Linked DNA regions of Homo sapiens: region 1 is linked to region 2. The links are contacts of gene promoters, found by promoter capture Hi-C in blood cells and fetal thymus (Javierre and others, 2016). All regions are on one chromosome and are shown on one strand. Each heading gives the region's core, a stretch centred on a gene start or on the middle of the fragment in contact. The rest is flanking DNA. Distances are from core to core; before and after follow the strand shown.

What was found. Contacts are between HindIII fragments. The CHiCAGO score rates a contact against its expected background, and 5 or more counts as called.
Region 1: a contact is called between a fragment that was not itself captured here and the fragment with the promoter of LRP12 in region 2, in 1 of 17 cell types (M2 macrophages). The highest score is 5.2, in M2 macrophages.

Annotation. Positions count from the first base shown.
Region 1 is chr8:104,682,633-104,688,787 of GRCh38, reverse strand. No RefSeq gene overlaps it. Among named protein-coding and RNA genes, the nearest start is that of LRP12, 96 kb to the right of the region's middle. The HindIII fragment of the contact is 1,799 bases long and covers 2,537-4,335 here.
Region 2 is chr8:104,587,390-104,593,147 of GRCh38, reverse strand. LRP12 (LDL receptor related protein 12) reads left to right here and starts at 3,890. Exons shown (of 7, transcript NM_013437.5): 1 at 3,890-4,329. The coding sequence starts at 4,251. RefSeq lists silencers at 3,852-4,191, 4,622-4,731. The HindIII fragment of the contact is 14,799 bases long and covers 1-5,758 here.

The DNA.
Region 1 (6,155 bases), core at 2,187-4,686, 96 kb before region 2:
GAGAAAAGGAAGCTCCTGGGAAGACAACAAATAGTGCCAGCAGTCCATAATATTAAGCTAGTTCTCTCACCACACACTGCTCAGAAAGCATAGGGAGCTATCAGTCCTATAATTCTGGGTCTCCCCCTGGAGGTAGGGATTTGCAAAGAGAGAAAGTGATGCTATTGGGCAACTTGAGGTTGGCATAAGAAGATTTAAACTTTGGAGTCAGTCCCTGCCCTTCTGCCTATGTTAGAAAAAAGCATTAGGGGACTGAAAAAGGGGTCCTCCCACCATTAACAAGAGATCAGAGTAACAGAGAGATCAACCTCCTTGGGCAATAGCAATTTCTGTAATGGAGGGTCCAGAAGCAGAGCAGGCCGCTTCCAACACAACATGTGCTGGAGCCTGTCACATGGGCAGCCATGTAGCTTGGGCAGAGCAGACAGCTCCAGAGAAGAGGAACTCAAAAGAAAGTCACCACTATAGGAGGATAGGTGCTTGTCAACATCCAGCAGCCATGGAAGCACCTTATGGAGAGAGTGGATATCAGCACACAGCATTAACCACTCCATTGCCTGGTAAGCTTTAATGTTTGGAGACCAAAACAAAACAAAACAAAACAAAACAAAACAAAAACAGTAGCAACCGTTGGTAAAATAGAAAAAATATATCAAGTCCCTAGGAAATCATATTGTTCTGTGTGTTCAGTCCACTGTGAAAATGACAGGATATCGAGGCAACCTAGTCCAAACAGATTATATTGAGAAAACAGACATTGGGAATTGGACTTTTGTGGCTCTAAAGTGAAGTGCCATTTTAACTGATTTCCTCAATACTCACCCTTAAGGGATGTTTATCAGAGACTTGTCTACAGGCAGGCTGAGCACTGTAGTTGGGAATCCAGATCTCAGCGAGATCCAGGCAAGCAGTTAGCTGGATGTTGGTCTCAGTGCCAACCACCAGAGATGGAAAGGACTTGGAGATAGAGTTGGTGGGCACCAGAGAACGTGGCCCTTAGTTAAGAGCAAAGGTTCTAATATCAAACAGATAATACTTCAAATCCCACTTAATAGCTATATGAACTCTGACCAATTATTTAACCTCTCTAAGCCTTAATGTCCTTACATACAAAAGAGGAATGATGAGTGTACCTTCCTTCCAGGGTTGATGTGAAGATTAAATGAATTAATACATGTACATTTTTTAGAACATTACCTTGCATATATAAATATTAACAGCTCATTATTAGAAGAGAAGGCTTATGAGAGAACCCAGACATAACCAGTCAAAAATTCAACAGAGTAACTAACTTGATTCTGCTAAGTCAGTTAACAGAAGAACTCAATGTAAATGGATGAGAGTTGGCAAAGGAAATTTGGGGAGGGGAATATAAACTTTTTTACCCATGACATAATTTTTATTGCATTAATTAGACTTTTTTTTTTGAGACAGAGTCTCGCTCTGTTGCCCAGGCTGGAGTGCAGTGGCATGATCTCGTCTCACTGCAACCTCCACCTCCTGGGTTCAAGCGATTCTCCTGCCTCAGCCTCCCGAGTAGCTGGTACTACAAGTGCATGTCACCACACCCAGCTAATTTTTTGTATTTTTAGTAGAGACAGGGTTTCAACATGTTAGCCAGGATGGTCTAATTAGACTTTTATAAGGCTATCTCCCTATATTGGGGGTGAAGACCAATACTCTATAAAACTACCTGGAACTTCTCTCTGATGTGCAAAGCAAAGAAGCTGAGCCAGAGAGGGCTAGGTGACTTGCAGCCTTAATCACAACTCCTGCCAGCTTGAATGGAGACAGGCACATGTGCTATTTAAACCTCCCTTATTTTACCTTGAGGAACAAAATCTATACAGTGTAAGGTTGGAAATGATGACAGCACACTCAAAATATTTGAAAGATTGGATCTCCAAGAGAAGGAAATAAAAGACCCCCCACCCCCACGACACACACACACACACACACACACACACACACACACACACACCAAGAGAAGGAATGAAGCTCAGGAACTGGAAGCTGGCTTGGGAACAGAGGCAATTCTAGGCCTCTGTTACCTTGTCACTCCCTCTCAGACCCAGGAGTTCAGAGAGTTCTGCTAATGTAACGAGTCAGCTCCTTCTACCTCTCCTACTGCTACAAATAACACCTATGCCATCTGGTGTCCACTTACTCATCACTTTGGTCTACTTGTGACTTCTGCTCACTCACAACTTCTGTTACTCACAAACCTTTAAGACCCTTCTCCCTTATGGCCTTGCTGCCTTCATCCTCTAGATTTCTTTTCAGAAATTCTGATTTGTCTCATTTAATACCCATTGTTCTGGTTGAACAAACCTCTTATTCCATGACCTCATAGCTTATAGCTTGTCTTTAGCCAGAAATCTACATCTGGTTTAATCAGCCTTGCCCAAGAAGACAGGGTCTCATGGCGCCAACAGGAACATTATCTGCTTAAAGAACTGCCTGCAGCCTTCCTTCAGGAAGGAAGGAAGGTAGCCCTCTAAAAGAAAACCATAGACTTTGCAGGCATTCTAAAGCTTGGTCTCTCCACTTCAGCAGGTATCTCAAACTAGAAACTAAAACTGAGTAGGAAAAAATTATCTAGAAACTTCAAACTCAGAAGAGGTTTGACTTTTTTAATAAAGAAAGGACTTTGGTACTTGACTGGGCATAAAAGAAACATCAGAAGGCCAGGAACATCGATAGTAATCAGACTAGGTCTCCAAGTCACCTAGGACACTAGGAGGGAGAAAAAAAAAACCATACCAGCTTTATATTAGAATAAAGAACAGTGGGGTTTGATAAAGCTGTTGATACTTGTACTGGGATGGTAGATACAAATGCTATAATTCACAGAGTGTATCGTCCTTGAACTATTTGTTTTTTCTATACATTTTGAATTTTTCTTATGCCTCGCTTTTTAATAGTCATTTGTGAAAATTACAGCTGGATTATCAATACTTAGGGATAAACAAATGTAAAGGAAGAGGGGTGCATGCCTCACGGAAGAGTCACAAGGAGTAGGTGAATCTCAGGAACTGTGTTTCTTGTCCTAGAGTGTGCTCTTTGGACTCTTACTCATTTTGGTTTGTTTTACACAGCCAAGAGGAGCCTAAGAAGACATGACAAGTAAATGTGATGTGGCATCCTCGATGGGATCCTGGGACAGATAAAAAGGCTTTAGGTAAAAACTAAAGAAATCTGAATAAACTGTGGACTTTAGCTAATAATAATGTAACAATGCTGGTTCATTAATTGCAACGAATGTACCATATTAATGTAAGTTATTAATAATAGGGAAAACTTGGTGCAGGAGTTGGAAGAGAGGCGTATGGGAACTCTTTGTACTACCTCCTGCTCAATTTTCTGTAATTCCAAAACTACTCTAAAAAATAAAGTCTATCAGTTATTTTTAAAAGACCTATCTCTAGCAATAAATAATTTAGACACTTCAGTTCACTCAAATGGAAAGTGATTTAGGACATGGCCAATAGTCCAAACTTTTTCACAAAGATAAATTATGCAACTAGAAGGTTACTAGAGAAAATGTTGGGATCATTATTTGTCAGGCCACCATTTGACCTTGTCAACAAGCAAATAGCCAAACTGTCATCCTTTACTCTTCAAAATGCAACTGAAACTTACTATTATTAGTTGTAAAATACTTTTCCCAAAGTTCATGTATTGGAAACTTAATCCCCAATGCAGTAGTGTTGAGAGGTGAAACTTTTAAGAGGTGATAAGATCATGAAGACTCTGGCCTTACAGATGGATCAATATCACTGGAGTGGATTTTTTTTAATTTAATTTAATTTTAAGTTCCGGGATACATGTGCAGGATGTGCAGGTTTTTTATACAGGTAAACGTGTGCCATTGCGGTTTGCTGCACCTATCAACCCATCACCTAGGTATTAAGCCCCACATGCATTAGTTATTAATAAAAGCAATATCAGCCCTCTCTTGCTCTCTCTAGTACTCTCTTGCCCTCTGCCTTCAGCCATAGGATGACACAGCAAGAAGGCCCTCACAAGATGCCAGGGCCATGCTCTTGGACTTTCAAATCTCCCGAACTGCGAGCAAAATAAGTTACTGTTCATTATAAATTACCTGGTGGGTGGTACTCTGTTATAGCAATACAAAACAGACTAAGACACTATTAGCAAAAAACATAACCAAGGGAAGCTGCATGCTGCAATTCTAATGCCATGACTCTAAACTTCAAATATTAACATGATGGGCTACTTGACTTTAAAAATATAAGAGTAAAAAGTGCCAAACAGGTGGCACTTGACAGAGAGCTGGTAACAGAACAGTGAGTTCCTCATAATGAGAAAGCTTCTAACAAGAGCCATTTCAGACATAATCAGCTCAGGAAAGAAACTCAGCAGAACAGAATGAGCATTCTAATTCAATTTATATTATTATATTGATGATGCATTTATATCGTGCATTTTTCGCCAAGGCTGTCAAGCACATTAGGCTAAGTTCTGCACAACAAATTCAAAATACTTAATAGGAGAGCTTCACTGTAAAATTCCTCACCTTTAAAGGCCTTTAAGGACATTCACAAAATCACATTTTTGGTAGATATCAGTTAGGAATTAACACCTGCCTTGGGAGAAACATTTGTCAAGGTTTTACTTCTCATTTTTTTTTCAATTGGTTACTGAAAGAGAATGCTGTCACCAGTTTCATGGCTTTCATGGCCAAGAACAGAAAAGTAAAAATCCCAGTTTGGTGTTTTCTATGGTTTGAATATTTGTGTCCCTCCAAAATGCATACTGAAACTTAATGTCTAATGCAACAGTATTGAGAGGTGGGATCTTTAGGAGGTGACAAGGCCATAAGGACTCTGCTCTCATGGATGGGATTAGACCCCTATAAAAGGGCTTATGGGAGCGAATTCATCCCTTTTGTCCTTCTGCCATGTGAGGACACAGCAACAAGGCACCATCTTGGAAGCATAGCGCAAGCCCTCACCAGACAACAAATCTGCCGGCCCCTTGATCATGGACTTCCCAGCCTCCAGAACTATGAGAAATAGATTTCTGTTGTTATGAATTAACCAATCTAAGGTATTTTCTTATAGCAGCAGGAACAAACTAAGATAGTGTTTGATATGATGGGAAGCCTCCCACAATCTGTGGATGATGGCGCATTGAGGATGGTAGCTCACTCAAAGCCCACTACTACTGCCCTACCCTGATGTTTGTTTTGGGATATACATTTCTGTCTTCATCAAGTCCCTCAATGAACAGGATCTCACTCCAATTTATTTGGGTAAATGGGATTTCTATTTAAATACACACACACACACACACACACACACACACACACACAATTTTATAAATGTTCTAAGAGCCAGAAATGAAATAGAATTGGGCCATGTAGGAATCAGAACTGGAGGGTTTGATAGCAAGGCTGTGCCTTCCATTCCTCAGTGGGCCCCTTGGTCTCTCAGTTCTGTTCCTCTCTGGACATCTGCCTTCATCTCTGTTTCTTCTCTGCAAGCTGGCTTTCTGGGTTTATTTAGGGCCTCTGTATTCTCCCATATTTCAGTTGCATGTGGTTTGACTTACAGCAGTGACAACTCTGGATTCTGCTCTATATGACCTTTCAGTTCAAGCACTCATCATCTGCCTCTGCTTGTCAGTATCTCAATTCCAGATGCCCCGGGGGATGTCTAGGATAGATGGGGTTCCATGACACATAATACGTCTACCACTTCTTCCAGGAACTGAGAGTGGGGTCTTTAAGAATGAAATGTGAGAAGGGAGGATGTAGTTGACTTGTCAATGTCCCCATCTTCCCTTTTAAAGTTAATTTAACTTATATTAATATACTTTTAACATATATTCCTTATAGAAAGACAGAAAATTAAGATAGGCAAACACACTTTAAATGTCTGTAATTTCTGCCATCCAAATACAACTACTGCAAATATCATGGCATAACCTTTCAGAATATCTAAAATACACATGTATTTATAGCCATATCTCCATTAATATTTTCAACAAGAAGCAGGATCACTTTATGCACACTACTTTAAAATACGCTTTTTCACTTAAAAGTATGTGGGAATATATTGGGTATATTCTCATATCCATGAATATTAATCAGTGTCATTTTTAATTACTGCATAATATTTATTTTACAG
Region 2 (5,758 bases), core at 2,641-5,140:
ATTAAGTTGAACTTATGAGGGAAAAACTAAATCTATTCGGATTTGGATTAGTTAATTTAGAGCCAGGATTATATATTTGACTACTTGGTACAATGGTGGGTATGCTGTCACAGCCCAGAATATTTAACCACAATAAATGTGCTAGTGAACTGGTTTAGAAGTTACCTAGATTGATGGATCTCATTTGCTAGCCTATATTATTCAACACCAATGGAAATTAGAATTCATTTGTAAAGGGATCTCATTTACTTAACTTCAATCTTAAAAAACTGTCTTTTTTTAGTTAGTTATATGTTTTTTCTCAAGTTTGTTTTTCTTTTTTAAACACAATATTCCTTTGAGGGGGAGTTAAAAGATGTAACTTTCTCTGGCAGCAGGCTGAATAGAAAACCCACTATCATCAATTTTCTTTCCAATAAAAGATGATTCTCAGAGTGGGAGTGATAATGCTCCCCAGTCTAACCTCAGTGTTGATGAGATTTTCAAATGCTACTAAATGAAGCAGAGTCTACATTAGGATGGAGCAAATTTTAATTGGTGACAAAAATTAGACCATTATATGTGATGATAGCCAAACAAGGAAAAAAGAGAAGTTTAAAATCAAACAAAAGGATTATTTAAGGGCATGTTTCCATAAAGTGGAAGATTGTAGCCCTTTTCAAAATATGTCAAGGGAAAAAGAAGCAGTCCCTGTACTGCTCCACTCCCAATTGCATGTACCTGAGGAGCTCCAGAACCACTTGGAAAAGGATTAAGCAGCAACTCAAATGGTTGCCTCATTCAGTTTTTCTCAAACTTTTAAGAAAACGGTTGACACAATATTTTAAGAATCTGCTGAAAATAATGTCTTCTCTCTATAAAAGTACATGAACACAAAATCTTCATATAATTTCAGAAGGCTTAAGATTCTTTGAAGCCCATCGGTGGATCCAGAGGACTCAGATTAAGAATGATATGGGTCTCAGGGGCATGATTTATGCTTTAAATCATGCAGTCCAGAACACTGGCCAAGCAAAATCAACTAGTAGTACAACTGCAATGGAATTGTTACCAATATTAACCACTGCATAGCTATAGTTTTCTGGATTTCAAAGTGCTTTCTCACAGATGAACAATTTGATGTATCAGCCCAGATGGCCAGCTAGGTAGATTAGGTGAGAGAAAGGGAGTAACGTTGAGTACCTATTCTGTGATGTGATGCTTATTAATGTCTGATATCCTACTATAACTGTTTTCAATAAATAAAAATGTTCCCTCAAAAAATATAAATACCCTTCACTGGTGAACATTGAGTACTTATTAGAGCCCTTCTAATAAAAAACAAAATACTTAGATTTTGAAGGCATTAAGGCAGACACCTAGATCTACATTTCTCAAAGTTTTTCTGGGGGTGGTGGGGGGTTAGCGGGGTGTCACTAAGACTATTTCAGGAAAGTACATGAGGTTCTCCCTTTGCCAATTTATATATTACATGAGTCTAGATTTTCTTCATATACTTCAACCAAAACAACATATTGCAACAGATTGGATGCAGAAGCAGATATGAGAATCCAGCTGTCTTCTATTAAACCAGCCATTAGGGAGATTTATAAAAGTGCAAAAACAAAGCCACTCTTCTTAACTTTTTGTGTTTGTTTTGGAAAGCAGAGTTATGTAAACTTGTAATGCATGTTTTATTTTAAATGAATTTAAAATAAATTCTTTTTTTTCTATTTTAATTTCTAAATGCTAAATATCAATAGCTATGACCCACATAAATAAAAGTTCTTTGGTGTCCTCACCAAATTGTAAGTGTTATGGGGGGTCCAGATACCCAAAAGTTTGATAACCTGGCAAGTCTGAGAAGACACATCTGGGTGGATGAGCAAGTGTAGGGGTGGGAGGGGTGTGACAGGAACTGATGAGGGCACTGTGTGTCTCGTGTTCGGGACAGGATTCCTTGAATGGTACTAAAAGTGGACAGGGGAGGATGCAGTCCAGTCTACTCCTTCACTCTGCTTGTGGCCTGTTCTTAACACAGCTCTCATGGAAGCGCAATTTAGAGAAAGCAATCTTAAGAAACAAGAAAGTAGAGTTTAGAATCCCAAAATTAGGAAAGACAACTGCAATTTGTTTAGTGAAAAACACTGAAGTTGCTTCTTTCCAACAAGAATGGAAAACATTTTTGGAGTGCTGGTTGCTTTTTTTACCAGATGATATAAGATTTGTTAATTATTAGATTTTTGTAATACTTATTAATACATTTTTCTCTTATCTTTTGGAATAGCATTTCCTGGTTTTAAAAAAAAAAACTTAAAAGGGGGCAAATCGGCAGGAGACTGAGGAAAAGCCTAAATGTATTCCCCAGAAAGTATGTTTTAAATTTTAACATTTACTTACTGAGAGGTGAGGCCAGCTGAACTTCCTGGGTCCAGTGGGGACTTGAGGAACTTTCCTGTCTTACAAGAGGATTGTAAAATGCACCAATCAGCGCTCTGTAAAATGCACCAATCAGCACTCTGTAAAACGCACCAATCAGCAGGATTCCAAAAGTAGCCAATCGCAGGGAGGATTGAAAGAGGGGCACTCCGATAGGACAGAAATGGAACATGGGAGGGGACCACAAGGGAATAAAAGCTGGCCACCACCAGCCAGCACCTGGGGTTCTCTTCCATGCTGTGGAAGCTGTCCTTTTGCTCTTCGCAATAAACCTTGCTACCGCTCACTCTTTGAGTCCGTGCCATCTTTAAGAGCTGTTAACAGTCACCGGGAAGGTCTGCAGCTTCATTCTTGAAGTCAGGGAGACCACGAACCCCCTGGCAGGCACCAACTCCGACACATTACTAGGCGCTAAGCATTGTGCTAGAGAGTTTGCTGTGGTATAGGGGCAACAATCTTTACTTTGGAATGAGAAAAACTGTTTCAAACAACTTACTTGCCATGAGTAATTTAATTTCTCTCTTTTCTATAAAACATGGGTAATATTTATCTCACAAGGATGTTTGGGATTAAAAAGTGACAACCTATGTCAATAGGACAGCATGATGCAGTGTAGGTCTTCAATGAATAGCATGGAGAGTGCTTGCAAAGGGCAACGATAAAATCTAATATAAATAAGACGTTGTAGACAAACGCTTTAAAAACACAGGGGGTAAGGTCTGATGTGCCAGCGTCACTACAGACGTACTTAGAAAAGTGTTCTGGGGATCTAAGTAAAGGAGGACTCCCATTTGCTGGGAGTGAGAAAAGAGCTTTAGGGAAACTGCAGCGTGATGGGCGAATCCTCCTTTCAATATATCTACCCTGAAAGTCGGCTCCAGCCCTGCCGAACATCCTGGCCCAGCTGCACCCGACCCAGCGTGAGATGTCAAATGACCTCTTGGCGCTTCCACGCCAGACTGGAGGGGCTCTGCACAAGCCTTGCCCGACTCATTCCGGGCACCTTGAGCGTGGGAGTCCACACTGCCCCTTGACCGACCAGCTGCCAGGTTGGCCGCACTAACTTGAGCCCACCCCCACTCGAAGCTCCGCGCCGACAGCAAGTGGAGACTTGGGGGTACCGGATAGAGGAAGGAACTCCCAAGTTGTCAGCTTCAGACCATCCACGCCTCCCCCAACACGGAACCACCTTCAGCCTCCCAGCTGGTATCCCACCCCCCCTCCCCCCACCCGCTGGGCCAGAGCCCAGCCCTCGGACAGCGACCGTGCTCCTCCACACACCCCGCGCTCCAGCCCCTGGGCATCCAGCAGCCGGCGTTCGCACGCTCTGTCATCGATTGGCGCTGCCTTGCTCCTTGGGCTCCCGTCGCGTGGAAATCGGCCCGAAACTTGGAAAGTCCAGCGGAGCGCGGGGAGGGAACCGAGGCAGGCGGGCCAGGGGATTGCCGATCGCACGGATGGGCGCGCGCTCAGTCTGGCGAGTGGCGGCGCCGGCTAGCCCGAGCGGCGCGAGGCCGGAGTCCGGCGTCCGCCACCCTCTCGTCTCGCGCTGGCGCGCGAGCTCCTTGCCCTTGCCCCCAGGAGGGCCGCCCCGCGTGGGGCTCTCGCACCGCCCGGGGTGGGAGCAGGCGAGCCGGAGGGAGGAGGGAGGAGGGAGCGCGCGCGGGCGGCGGCGGCCCCTCCCTTCCCCCTCCCGCAGCCGCGGAGAGCGCAGGGAGCAGCCGGTGGCTCGGCGGCGGCGGCGGCGGCGGCGGCGGCGTCGGCGTCGTCTACCTCCAGCTTCTCCTCCCTCCTCCTCCGTCTCCTCCTCTCTCTCTCCATCTGCTGTGGTTATGGCCTGTCGCTGGAGCACAAAAGAGTCTCCGCGGTGGAGGTCTGCGTTGCTCTTGCTTTTCCTCGCTGGGGTGTACGGTAAGTGTCCGCGTCCCCGCGCCCCGCTGACCGAACAAAGCTGAGGCGACCCGGGCCCCGAGGCCTCCAGGACGGGGGTTCCCCTGGAGACTCCCGCGGAGACCCTGGCTACCGGCGGGACAAAGACCGGTGAGGGGGTGGATGTGGCGGAACGGGTGTCCCCACACGGAGATGCTTTTCTCCACTCGTCCACCTCCAGACCCTCGGGTGGTGGAGAGGGGCTGGGGGGCCCGGCCGGGAGGGCCCCGGCGGAGCGAGGGGGTGGCGGGCGGACTTCCCGACCTGGGTTCGAGGGCCCCCGCGGCCAGTTGCTCCAGGACCCGTAGCCTGGCACAATCCACACACAAAGATGCTTGACTGTGAGAAAGCAGAGGAGCTCGCCCCCGCCGCTGCCGGGACGGTCCTTCCCCCCGCCCCCTCAACCCGGGGTTAGGAAGTTCTCTCACCGGCGAGATTCCCACCGCGCCAGCCCTTGTCCTACTCGATTCCCTGAAAAGGCTTCCCGCTGACTTCTCCCCACTCCACCTCGGGGGCAAGGGCTCTGCCGAATCCGGGCGTGCAGGGTCCTGTTGGTTCCCCGGGAGCAGCACGCGGGAGAAGGCCAGAAAATAGTTTCCAGCCCCACCTCAGTCTCTCCTGTTAGGGTGTACACATCTGTCCTGACTCCTAGTTCAATTGTAATTTCATCCATCCTCGTCCGCCGCTGTGGTCACTGTTACTTTATTCCAGTCGATGGATCGGGTTAGAGATAACTCCTTTCGGGTTAAGAGAAGGCTGAAGACTGTGCGGACAGCTTTATATTGCGTTGGGGTCTGAGCAAGAGCTGAATGGAATTAATTGCAAAGAACATCTATCTCTTAAGATAATTAAGTTACACTTCTGACTTCACCGTTCTTAGTTCATCAGTTAAACACACTGAATAGGTATTTCAGAGAGCTCAGTTTTAACCTTTCCTTTTTGGAGTGTTGCTCTGATTTCTCCAGAAAAAGAATTAGAAGATATCATTACTTTGGTAAATTTTACTTATAAAAAGTCTAATTCATTTGCCACAAACATTGATTTGACTAGTATAATGGTGGTGGTGGTGAGGTTTAGTCAACAGCCAATTTGTCAGCAAGTGTTATCTCTTTTGAAGGCATTTATCTACGGAATTGAATGTGATGGTGGCTTTTGAAACCTGGCAAGTGACGCTAAATGAAGAATTAATGAACGTAATTGGGCATTTACTGACAGCCAAGAAATTCTTTTTGGTACAATTAAGGATGTGTTGCTCCCGTACCTGATTAGTAGTATTTTTGTTTGTTTTGGTGAGGAGAGTAGTTTGGTCCATTTTTTATGTAGGGGTAATTGCCAGAGGTGTGCTTGTGTGGGACCAAAAACCCAGTACACGACTTTTGATTGTTAGCTGCATCAAGTGGCTGTAATCCCT